3 separate regions of the Homo sapiens genome follow, and all the other regions are linked to region 1. Evidence: promoter capture Hi-C in human tissues and cell types (Jung and others, 2019). All regions are on one chromosome and are shown on one strand. The core of a region is centred on a gene start or on the middle of the fragment in contact, and the rest is flanking DNA. Distances in the headings are between cores, read along the strand shown.

What was found. The method cuts DNA at HindIII sites, captures the fragments that hold promoters and counts their contacts. A contact is called where the count stands out against the background at its distance.
Region 2: a fragment that was not itself captured here is called in contact with the fragment with the promoter of DPPA4 in region 1 in 1 of the 25 tissues and cell types used here (neural progenitor cells).
Region 3: a contact is called between a fragment that was not itself captured here and the fragment with the promoter of DPPA4 in region 1, in 2 of the 25 tissues and cell types used here (heart left ventricle and stomach).

The regions. Positions count from the first base shown.
Region 1 is chr3:109,336,236-109,339,136 of GRCh38, forward strand. It overlaps DPPA4 (developmental pluripotency associated 4), which reads right to left and starts at 1,311. Exons shown (of 7, transcript NM_018189.4): 1 at 1,229-1,311. The coding sequence starts at 1,282. RefSeq lists enhancers at 1-199, 200-808, 809-1,416, 2,635-2,901. The HindIII fragment of the contact is 13,883 bases long and covers 1-2,901 here.
Region 2 is chr3:109,298,429-109,301,370 of GRCh38, forward strand. DPPA2 (developmental pluripotency associated 2) reads right to left here. Exons shown (of 9, transcript NM_138815.4): 8 at 1,943-2,007. The coding sequence ends at 1,965. Among named protein-coding and RNA genes, the nearest start is that of DPPA2, 17 kb to the right of the region's middle. The HindIII fragment of the contact is 8,558 bases long and covers 1-2,942 here.
Region 3 is chr3:109,396,527-109,399,693 of GRCh38, forward strand. It overlaps the pseudogene RLIG1P2. Among named protein-coding and RNA genes, the nearest start is that of LINC01205, 12 kb to the right of the region's middle. RefSeq lists an enhancer at 1-79. The HindIII fragment of the contact is 3,574 bases long and covers 1-3,167 here.

The DNA.
Region 1 (2,901 bases), core at 61-2,560:
TTGTATGGCATTTTTACATCTCTATAGCAGTTCTACATTTTGATTTGAAATTTATATTTGCATAAACCTTACAAAAAGTACTCACTTTGGACCTCACAAAAGACTTAAAACCGAGACAGTTAAAAATGACCCAGTTCAAGTCAAGAGGACCTGAGAGCGCTCGGATATGGCCGTTCAGTGCCTGTGCAACGTCTTAAATCCTCTCTTCCTTCAGTTTCTGTCTGCATTGTTCCCAATGTCTGGCTTCTGATTACTCCTAGGTCCTAAGGACGCTGGGAAAAGGGGACGAATTCATTCTCAGCACCCTCGGTTTAGGATCTGTGTCCGTCTAAAGGAAATTAAGGGGTTTCATTCTTTTCCAAACTCAGCTCAATTACCTCTTCCTAAAATCTTTCCTTTAACACCCTTTTCTCCTGTTACCATTTCCCTCTAGCCCCCATATTCAGTTAGTTCTTTCTGACAGGACTAAGCACCTCTTCAAAACAGAAAACCCGGGCCGGGAGCAGCGGCGGGCGCCTGCAGTCCCAGTAGCACTTTGGTAAGCCGAGGTGGGAGGATCGTTTGAGCCTGGGCGGTTACAGTGAATAGTGATGGTGCCACTGCACTCCAGCCAGGGAGACAAAAGTGAAACCCTGTTCCAAAACACAAACCTGAAAACCTAATTTTTTAACTTTTTCTTTTGAGGTGGAGTTTCGCTCTGGTTGCCCAAGCTGGGGGTGCAATGGGGCGATCTCGGCTCACCGCAACCCCCGACTCCCGGGTTCAAGCGATTCTCCTGCCTCAGCCTCCCGAGTAGCTGGGATTACAGGTGTGCGCCACCACACCTGGCTAATTTTGTACTTTTAGTAGAGACGGGGTTTCTCCATTTTGGTCAGGCTGGTCTCGAACTCCCGACCTCAGGTGATCCGCCCGCCTCGGCTGCCCAAAGTGCTGGGATTACAGGCGTGAGCCACCGCGCCCGGCCTCTTTTTTTTTTTTCCCCATCTTTTGACACACTCAACCTCCTCAACTAAACCTAGAAAACCTCATTTCTTACTTGTCTGCTCACTCCAATATACCAGGCTGCAATCATATTCTTGGGCCTTACTCTTAAAATAAAAAAAAAAAAAGTCAAGAGGAGAAAATTCGAAGGCACATTCTTTTCTCCTTAAAGGAAAAATCAGGAGTGCCCAGGGAAGACAGAAACACAAAGACAGACAGAAAACAAATCCACTAAAACTGTACTGACCTCCTTGCCTTTTGCCTTCTCCATACTTGTAGAAGAAGCGGAGCCTCGCAACATGCTTCCAAAATGGCCCCTGCCCCAAGATTGCTATTTGCAAAGTCTCCTCCCACTTCCTGCCGCCCGAAGACCCTTTTTCTCTCCACCTCACCTCTTCTTTTCTTCTCCCCTTCTGTTCCCTCCCCCACAATTTGTAAATGCTAAAATTGCATTCTTTCTTATTCATGGGGTGACTTTTGTCTGGGTTGAATTACTAATACTATTCCTGGCCCTTTTCTGTTCACTTTAAATGTAATTATCCAAAGTATGGTTCCGGAGACATTGGGAGATTGAGCACTCCTTCAGAACGATTCTACGGGGAAAAAAAACAAAAAACAAAAAACAAAAAAACAGTGGCCAGAGACTTGAGCAGGATGTGTGAAGGGATTTAATAATGGAACTTGTGGCAACAGTAGACTTCAGAGACCAGACTGGCGGCTTGAAGAAAGCTATTTTCTCGTACCAAATACATTCCATTTCCTAAGTAAGTTACTCAACCAACTAAAACTCCAGGTTTCTCTGTACTAATACCGAGCATCTTTTCATCTGCCAACGAACTAATAATAGTAGCTTTTAAAGTCTATAGAGTATTTGTTATTTATTTTGTAGAGGGCAAGTGGGGGGGTCTGGCTATTTTGACCTGGCTGGTCTCGAACTCCTGCCCTCAAGTAATTCTCCAGCCTTGTCCTCCCAAAGTGTTGGGATTACAGGCGTGAGCCACCACTCCCCGCCCGAGTATTTTTTTATATCTCAAATTGTGAGTTTTAAATTCAGTCATTATTGTTCCCCATTTTATATATGACTAAAGTTGGTATAAATTTTTATTGGTAACTTTTTCAATAGCACAGTAAGTGAACCCCTAACCTACTGACTCCCAAAGAAGTTCAAGTTTTTCTCCTTAAAATAATTTGAAAAATCTTTCCTCAGATCAGTGCTCCCTGTCAGATTGTCAAGAGATGTGAAGTGAAGGAAGCAGTGGCTGTGCGACTGAAACCCTCCCTTGTCAGGGTCCAAAGTCTCTTTTGTTCTTTGGTTTACTTTGTTGTTTTTTTTTCCTACATCTCATTGCTTGTCCTAAAATGATAAATAAGAGACTGTCTTTATCCAAATGGTGTTAGTAATCTGCTCACAGGCTAGAAATCCACGGACAGAAAAAGTAAGTAAACGGAGCCCAGGAATAGAGAAGGAAGTGCAGGTTGTGGACTGGGCAACCCCCAAGGCGGCAAAGAGGAAACCAGGTGAGTTGAGGTCATCTGGGAGATATTAGGGCTTTGATTTAACAATTCTTTACCACAGCCTTTGGTAACCACCAGTAGGACTTTCTAATTAAGGTTTGTGTATAAAGTGTATAACTGAATCATCTTTCTTTTGTCAGTGTAATTGAACGTAACATTCAGAATAACTGGAGTTCTGGGCTGGGCATGGTGGCTCACGCCTGTAATCTCAGCACTTTGGGGGGCTGAGGTGGGCAGGTCACTTGAGTTCAGGAGTTTTGAGACCAGCCTGGCCAACAATGGCAGAACCCCTTCTCTACTAAAAATGCAAAAATTAGCCGGGCATGGTGCGTGCCTGTAATCCCAGCTACCAAGGAGGTTGAGGCAGGAGAATTGCTTGAGCTGGAGAGGCAGAGGTTGCAGTGA
Region 2 (2,942 bases), core at 240-2,739, 38 kb before region 1:
AAATAGCCGGGCACGGTGGCTCACGCCTGTAATCCCAGCCCTTTGGGAGCCCAAGGCGGGTGAATCACGAGGTCAGGAGCTCAAGACCAGCCTGGCCAACATGGTGAAACCCCATCTCTACTAAAAAAATACAAAAAATTAGCTGGGCATAGTGGCGGGTGCCTGTAATCCCAGCTACTCGGAAGGCTGAGGCAGGAGAATCGCTTGAACCTGGGAGGCGGAGGTTCCAGTGAGCTGAGATCGGCGTCACTGCACTCCAGCCTGGTGATAAAGTATGATTCTGTCTAAAAATAATAATAATAATAATAATAATAAAATAGCCAGGCACAGTGGCTCACGCCTGTAATCCCTGCACTTTGGAAGATTAAGCGAGTGGATTGCTTGAGCTCAGGAGTTCAATGGTCTTGAACCAGGCTGTTCACCTGAGCAACACGGTGAAACCCGTCCTCTACCAAAAATTAAAAAAAATTAGCTGGGCATTATGGTGTGTGTCTGTAGTCCCAGCTACTTGGGAGGCTGAGGTGAGAGGATGGCTTGAACACGGAAGGCAGAGGTTGCAGTGAGCTGAGATCGTGCCACTGCACTCCAGCCTGGGTGACAGAGCCAGACCCTGTCTCAAAAATAAACAAATTTTTAAGAAAGAAAAAGAGGCCGGGCACGGTGGCTCACGCCTGTAATCCTAGCACTGGGAGGCTGAGGCAGGTGGATCACCTGAGGTCAGGAGTTCCAGATCAGCCTGGCCAAAATGGTGAAACCCCGACTCTACTAAACATACCAAAAAAAAAAAAAAAAATTGACTGGGGGCTGGGTGCGGTGGCTCCCGCCTGTAATCCCAGCACTTTGGGAAACCGAAGCGGGTGGATCCCAAGATTAGGAGTTCGAGACAAGCCTGGCCAATATGGCAAAACCCCGTTTCTACTAATACAAAAAAATTAGCCGGGTGTGGTGGCACATGCCTGTAATCCCAGCTACTCGGGAGGCTGAAGCAGGAGAGTTGCTTGAACCCGGGAGGTGGGAGGCGGAGGTTGCAGTGAGCTGAGATCACGCCACTGCACTCCAGCCTGGGCAACAGAGTGAGACTCTGTCTCAAAAAAAATAAAATAAAAATTTAGCTGGGCGTGGTGGTGTGCACCTGTAATCCCAGCTACTTGGGAGGCGGAGGCAGGCGAATTGCTTGAACCTGGGAGGCAGGGGTTGCAGTGAGCTGAGATCTCATCATTGTACTCCAGCCTGGGCGACAAGAATGAGACCCCGTCTCAAAAAAAAAAAAAAGAAAAAGAAAAAGAAAAAGAAAAAAGAATAATGTATCAATATTGACTCATTAGTTTTTTTTTTTTTTTAGAGACTATGTTGCCCAGGCTGGAGTGCAGTGGCAATTCACAGGTGTGATCACAGAGAACTACAACCTTGAACTCCTCCTGGGTGCAAGTGATCCTCCTGACTTAGCCTTCCCGGTAGCTGGGACTACAGGTGACTACCACCATGCCCAGCCCTGCCTCATCAATTGTAAAAAATGTAGCACACTAATGCAAGTTACTAACAGAGGAAAATGGAGGGGGTGTGAAGCACCGTGTACATGGGAATACATGGGAACCCTATACTTTTCACTCAAGTTTTCATTTTCAAAAAAGAGTCCATTAATTAAAACAAAACCAAATTGTATTCTGTGCAGCTAACTATTTAGTAAGTCAGTACTCAAGGCATCAGGAGATACCAAAGATGGTCAGGACACAGCACAGCAATGATTGGGATGCAAGTTATCTACAGACGCGCCACCATTTGTACTTCCTGGTAGACAGCAGACAAGAGACTTTGATACATTTATGTCCTGTTTTTTAGTGAATAGGGGGAAGGCAGAGAGTTTCTCTTGTATGTGACTCTTTTCAATTGCCTTCAAATCAAAATAATACTTATTTTGAGGTGGCATATTCTCATCTCTTACATTGTATTCAAACAGGTTGCTGCTACTTCTCTACTGTCATTAATCTTTTCATCATCTTCTTATTCCTGTAAGGCAAGTAGAAAAGAACTGTGAAATATTGCTACAGCAAGGTAAACCATCCCTTACCAATCCCTTTAAAATGACCAATAAAATAAAGCATGCACTTCTGGGCCGGGTGTGGTGGCTCACGCCTGTAATCCTAGCACTGTGGGAGGCTGAGGAGGGCAGATCACCTGAGGTCAGGAGTTTGAGACCAGCCTGACCAATATGGTGAAACCCTGTGTCTGCTAAAATTACAAAAATTAGCCGGTCATGGTGGCACAGGCCTGTAGTCCCAGCTACTCAGGAGGCTGAGACCGGATAATTGTTTGAGTATGGGAGGCAGAGGTTGCAGTGAGCCGAGACCAAGCCACTGAACTTCAGCCTAGGTGACAGAGCGAGACTCAGTCTCAAAAAAAAAAAAAAAAAAAAAGAATGCACTTCTGGAGTTCCTGAGTCATTTGCCCTAAAACCTAGGAATGGTGCACAAAAAGACTTTATGTACTAAATAAAGGAAAAGGGTTGTTCACTTACTCTCAGGGCTTACATTCCACATACTGCAATGGATCTCACATCTTTTTTTTTTTTTTTTAAGACAGGTTCTCACTCTGCTGCCCAGGCTGGAGTGCAGTGGCACTATCACAGTTCACTGCAGCCTTGACTTCCAGGGCTGAGGTGATCCTCCCACCTCAGCCTCCCCAGTAGTTGGGACCACAGGTGCATGCCACCACACCTGGCTAATTTTTTTATATAGAGACAGGGTTTCACTATGTTTCTCAGGCCAGTCTCAAACTCCTAAGCTCAAGTCATCTGCCCACCTTGGCCTCCCAAAGTGCTAGGATTGCAGTTGTGAGCCACCATGCCCGGCTTCCTTCATCTTTATACTCTCCATTCCCCTCTCTTCATGCAGCTCCTCCCCATTCATAAATGCTTATGGTTTTTTCATTTAAAAAAATTTAAG
Region 3 (3,167 bases), core at 137-2,636, 60 kb after region 1:
TACTTGCTCAGGGCTTTCTTCCCGCGTGTGCTTGGCGCTGCTCACAAACGCGCTCTCCTCTAGCACCGCCTGCTGGGCCGACCACGAGGCGCCTGGGCTCCGTGTAGCGGAAAATGCCGTGTGTTTCTAGGGAGGTGAAAAAGGAGCCCTCCACCGAAAGGCAGAATCAGCCATTTAAAGTTTTGGCAACGAAAACTGTAAGTCATGAGGCATTAGATGCAGGTATCTACAGTGCAATTCCAACAGAAAAAGTGGATGGAACATGTTGTTACGTTGCTACTTACAGAGATACCTTTCGGTTTGATTAGATAGAAAACCTAACAAACAACCTGTTAAAAGGTTTTAAAATTTTCTACATTCAAAAGAAAACTTCAAAGAATTTTCTTGGAATGTTGAGGAGTACTTCAAAGCTACTCCAGAGTGTTGGCTAGCAGCAAAGGAAACAGAAAAATTAAATAGGAATCTGGTCCATGACGAAACATGGACACATTCCTGGTGGGGCACCAGTAGAGAAAAATAACAAATAGCATTACTGGCATTCCTCTGTGGTTAATTATGAATTTGCAATTGATCTGGTACTAAAGCATCATCCTGAGGATCCTAGGCTTTTGGAAATTAGTGCCGTGCCATTATCAGATTTCTTGGAACAAACATTGCAGCTTATAGGAACAAATATCAATGGAAACCCATATGGGTTAGGAAGGAAGAAGCATCCACAATATGTTATACTACACGGACCATTTCAAATAAGAAACCTGCCTATATTGGGCCGAGCGTGGTGGCTCATGCCAGTAATCCCAGCACTTTGGGAGGCTGAGGTCGGCGGATCACCTGAGGTCAGGAGTTCGAGACCAGCCCGGCCAATGTGGTGAAACCCCTTCTCTACTAAAAATACAAAAATTAGCTGAGCGTGGTGGCAGGCGCCTGTAATCCCAGCTACTCAGGAGGCTGAGCCAGGAGAATCGCTTGAGCCCAGGAGGCAGAGGCTGCAGAGAGCAGAGTCGCACCACTGCACCACAGCCTGGGTGACAGAGCGAGACACCGACTCAAAAAAAGAAACCTGCCTATGTTGAAGCACAATGATCTGTTGTCCTGGTTTGAAAGCTGCAGAGTAGGTAAAGTGAAAGGAATAGTATGGGATTGCAGTGATGGCTGTTTAATTAAGGTCCATTACCATCGTCTATCCTCTTTGTTTACACTGGCCAATTGCAGATGTTTACATGAATTCAGAACCAGTAATTACCAATATGAAACTTAACAAATATGACTATGCTTTTGATACTGTTTAACAATTTTTTTAATCAGAAATTTAGTAGGCTTAAAGATGTAATACTTGACATATAAAATGCAAGTGCAATTAAAATTAGTTTTATTTATTTATTTTTTGGAGACAGGGTCACCCACGCTGGAGTGTAGTGGTGTAATCACAGCTCACTGCAACCTCGACTTCCCAGGCTTAAATGATCCTCTCACCTCAGCCTCTTGAGTAGCTGGGACTATAGGATCATGCCACCATGCCTGGCTAATGTTTTTAATTTTTAAATTTTTTTGTAGAGACAGGGTCTCAGTGTGTTGCCTAGTCTGGTCTTGAACTCCTGGACTCAAGTGATCCTCCTGCTTTGGCCTCCCAAAGTGATGGGATTACAGGGGCGAGCCACCTCACCTGGCCAGAATTAGTTTTATTATTAAAAAAAAAAAAGAGAAGACAATCTGCAAAACAGAAAAAAGAATACGTCTGTTAAAAACTACAAAAGATGGCTGGGTGCGGTGAATCGTTTGAGTTCAGGAGTTTAAGACAAGCCTGAGCAACATGGTGAAACCCCATCTCTCCCAAAAATACAAAAATTAGCTGGGCATGTTGGTGCGTTGCCTGTGGTTGCAGCTACTTGGGAGGCTGAGGCTGGAAGATGGCTTGAGCCGGGAAGGTGGAGGTTATAGTGAGCTGAGATCATGCCACTGCACTCCAGCCTGGGCAACACAGTGAGACCTCATCCCAAAAAAAATTACAAAAGACTGGGAGAAAGCAGAAACAAGTATTGGGAAGACTGTGCTATGTGTAGAACACTCCTGTTCCACTAATAAAGGAATGTGACCTTTGATAGATTGAGTATAGGGAACATATAATGGAAGCATTAAAGGGGTGGATCTTCCTTACTTTTTGCCTCCACTCTACACTTTTAGGTCAGACGTTCCCCGAAAGGGGTATTATCAGGCCTAGAGTAGAGACAGATGAGAGGTGGTTGAAATTACTCTATTGTTATTGTATAACATAATTAATATAAGCAGTGACTCTATGGGATCCTTTAAAGCTTTTATTTTCTGGGTAAACATTTGTACCTGGGCCAGTGCTGGAATTAGTGACTGCTTCCCACTCTTTCTGCTTTTCTTCTCTTGATCACCAGTGGCAGGAGGGTGAGGCTAGGTAGGAAGGAAAGCTTGATGTCTGGATGTGCCCAGGGAGGATTTGGGTTGTAGCTGGTCCTCTAATTCCACCTAGAGGTAAGAACTGGATGTGGTCAGGGAGAATCCTCTTGCTACTTCTCTCTTGCTACAAGCTGGCAGGCTCCAGTTTTACTAAGGAACACAAAAGAGTCCAGAATAGGGCGCGCACACACACACACACACACACACACACACACACACACACACGATCATATTTTTTGGTTCATTTAAAAATTTTTTATTGTCATATAATATACACAATAAAGTGTACCAATCTTAAGTGCTCCATGAACTTTTACATATGAAAACACCTTTTAACCACAATTCGGTTAAAATTATCTGAATATATGCAGCAGCCCAGAAGGTAATATGAGGTGTGTTTTCAGTAAATACTGTCATCCAAAGTAACTAATATTTATTTTTCCACCCAAATGTAGATGGACATTGGATTAACTTCTGGTGTGGACTATTATAAATAAAGTTACCTTAAATATTTGTGTGTGTGTGTGTGTGTGTGTGTGTGTATATATATATTTTTTTTTTTTTTTTTTGAGACGGAGTCTTGCCCTGTCGCCCAGGCTGGAGTGCAGTGGCCCGATCTTGGCTCACGGCAATCTCTGCCTCCCAGGTTCAAGTGATTCTCCTGCCTCAGCCTCCCAAATAGTTGGGATTACAGGCATGCGCCACCACACCCAGGTAGTTTTTTTGTATTTTTAGTAGAGACG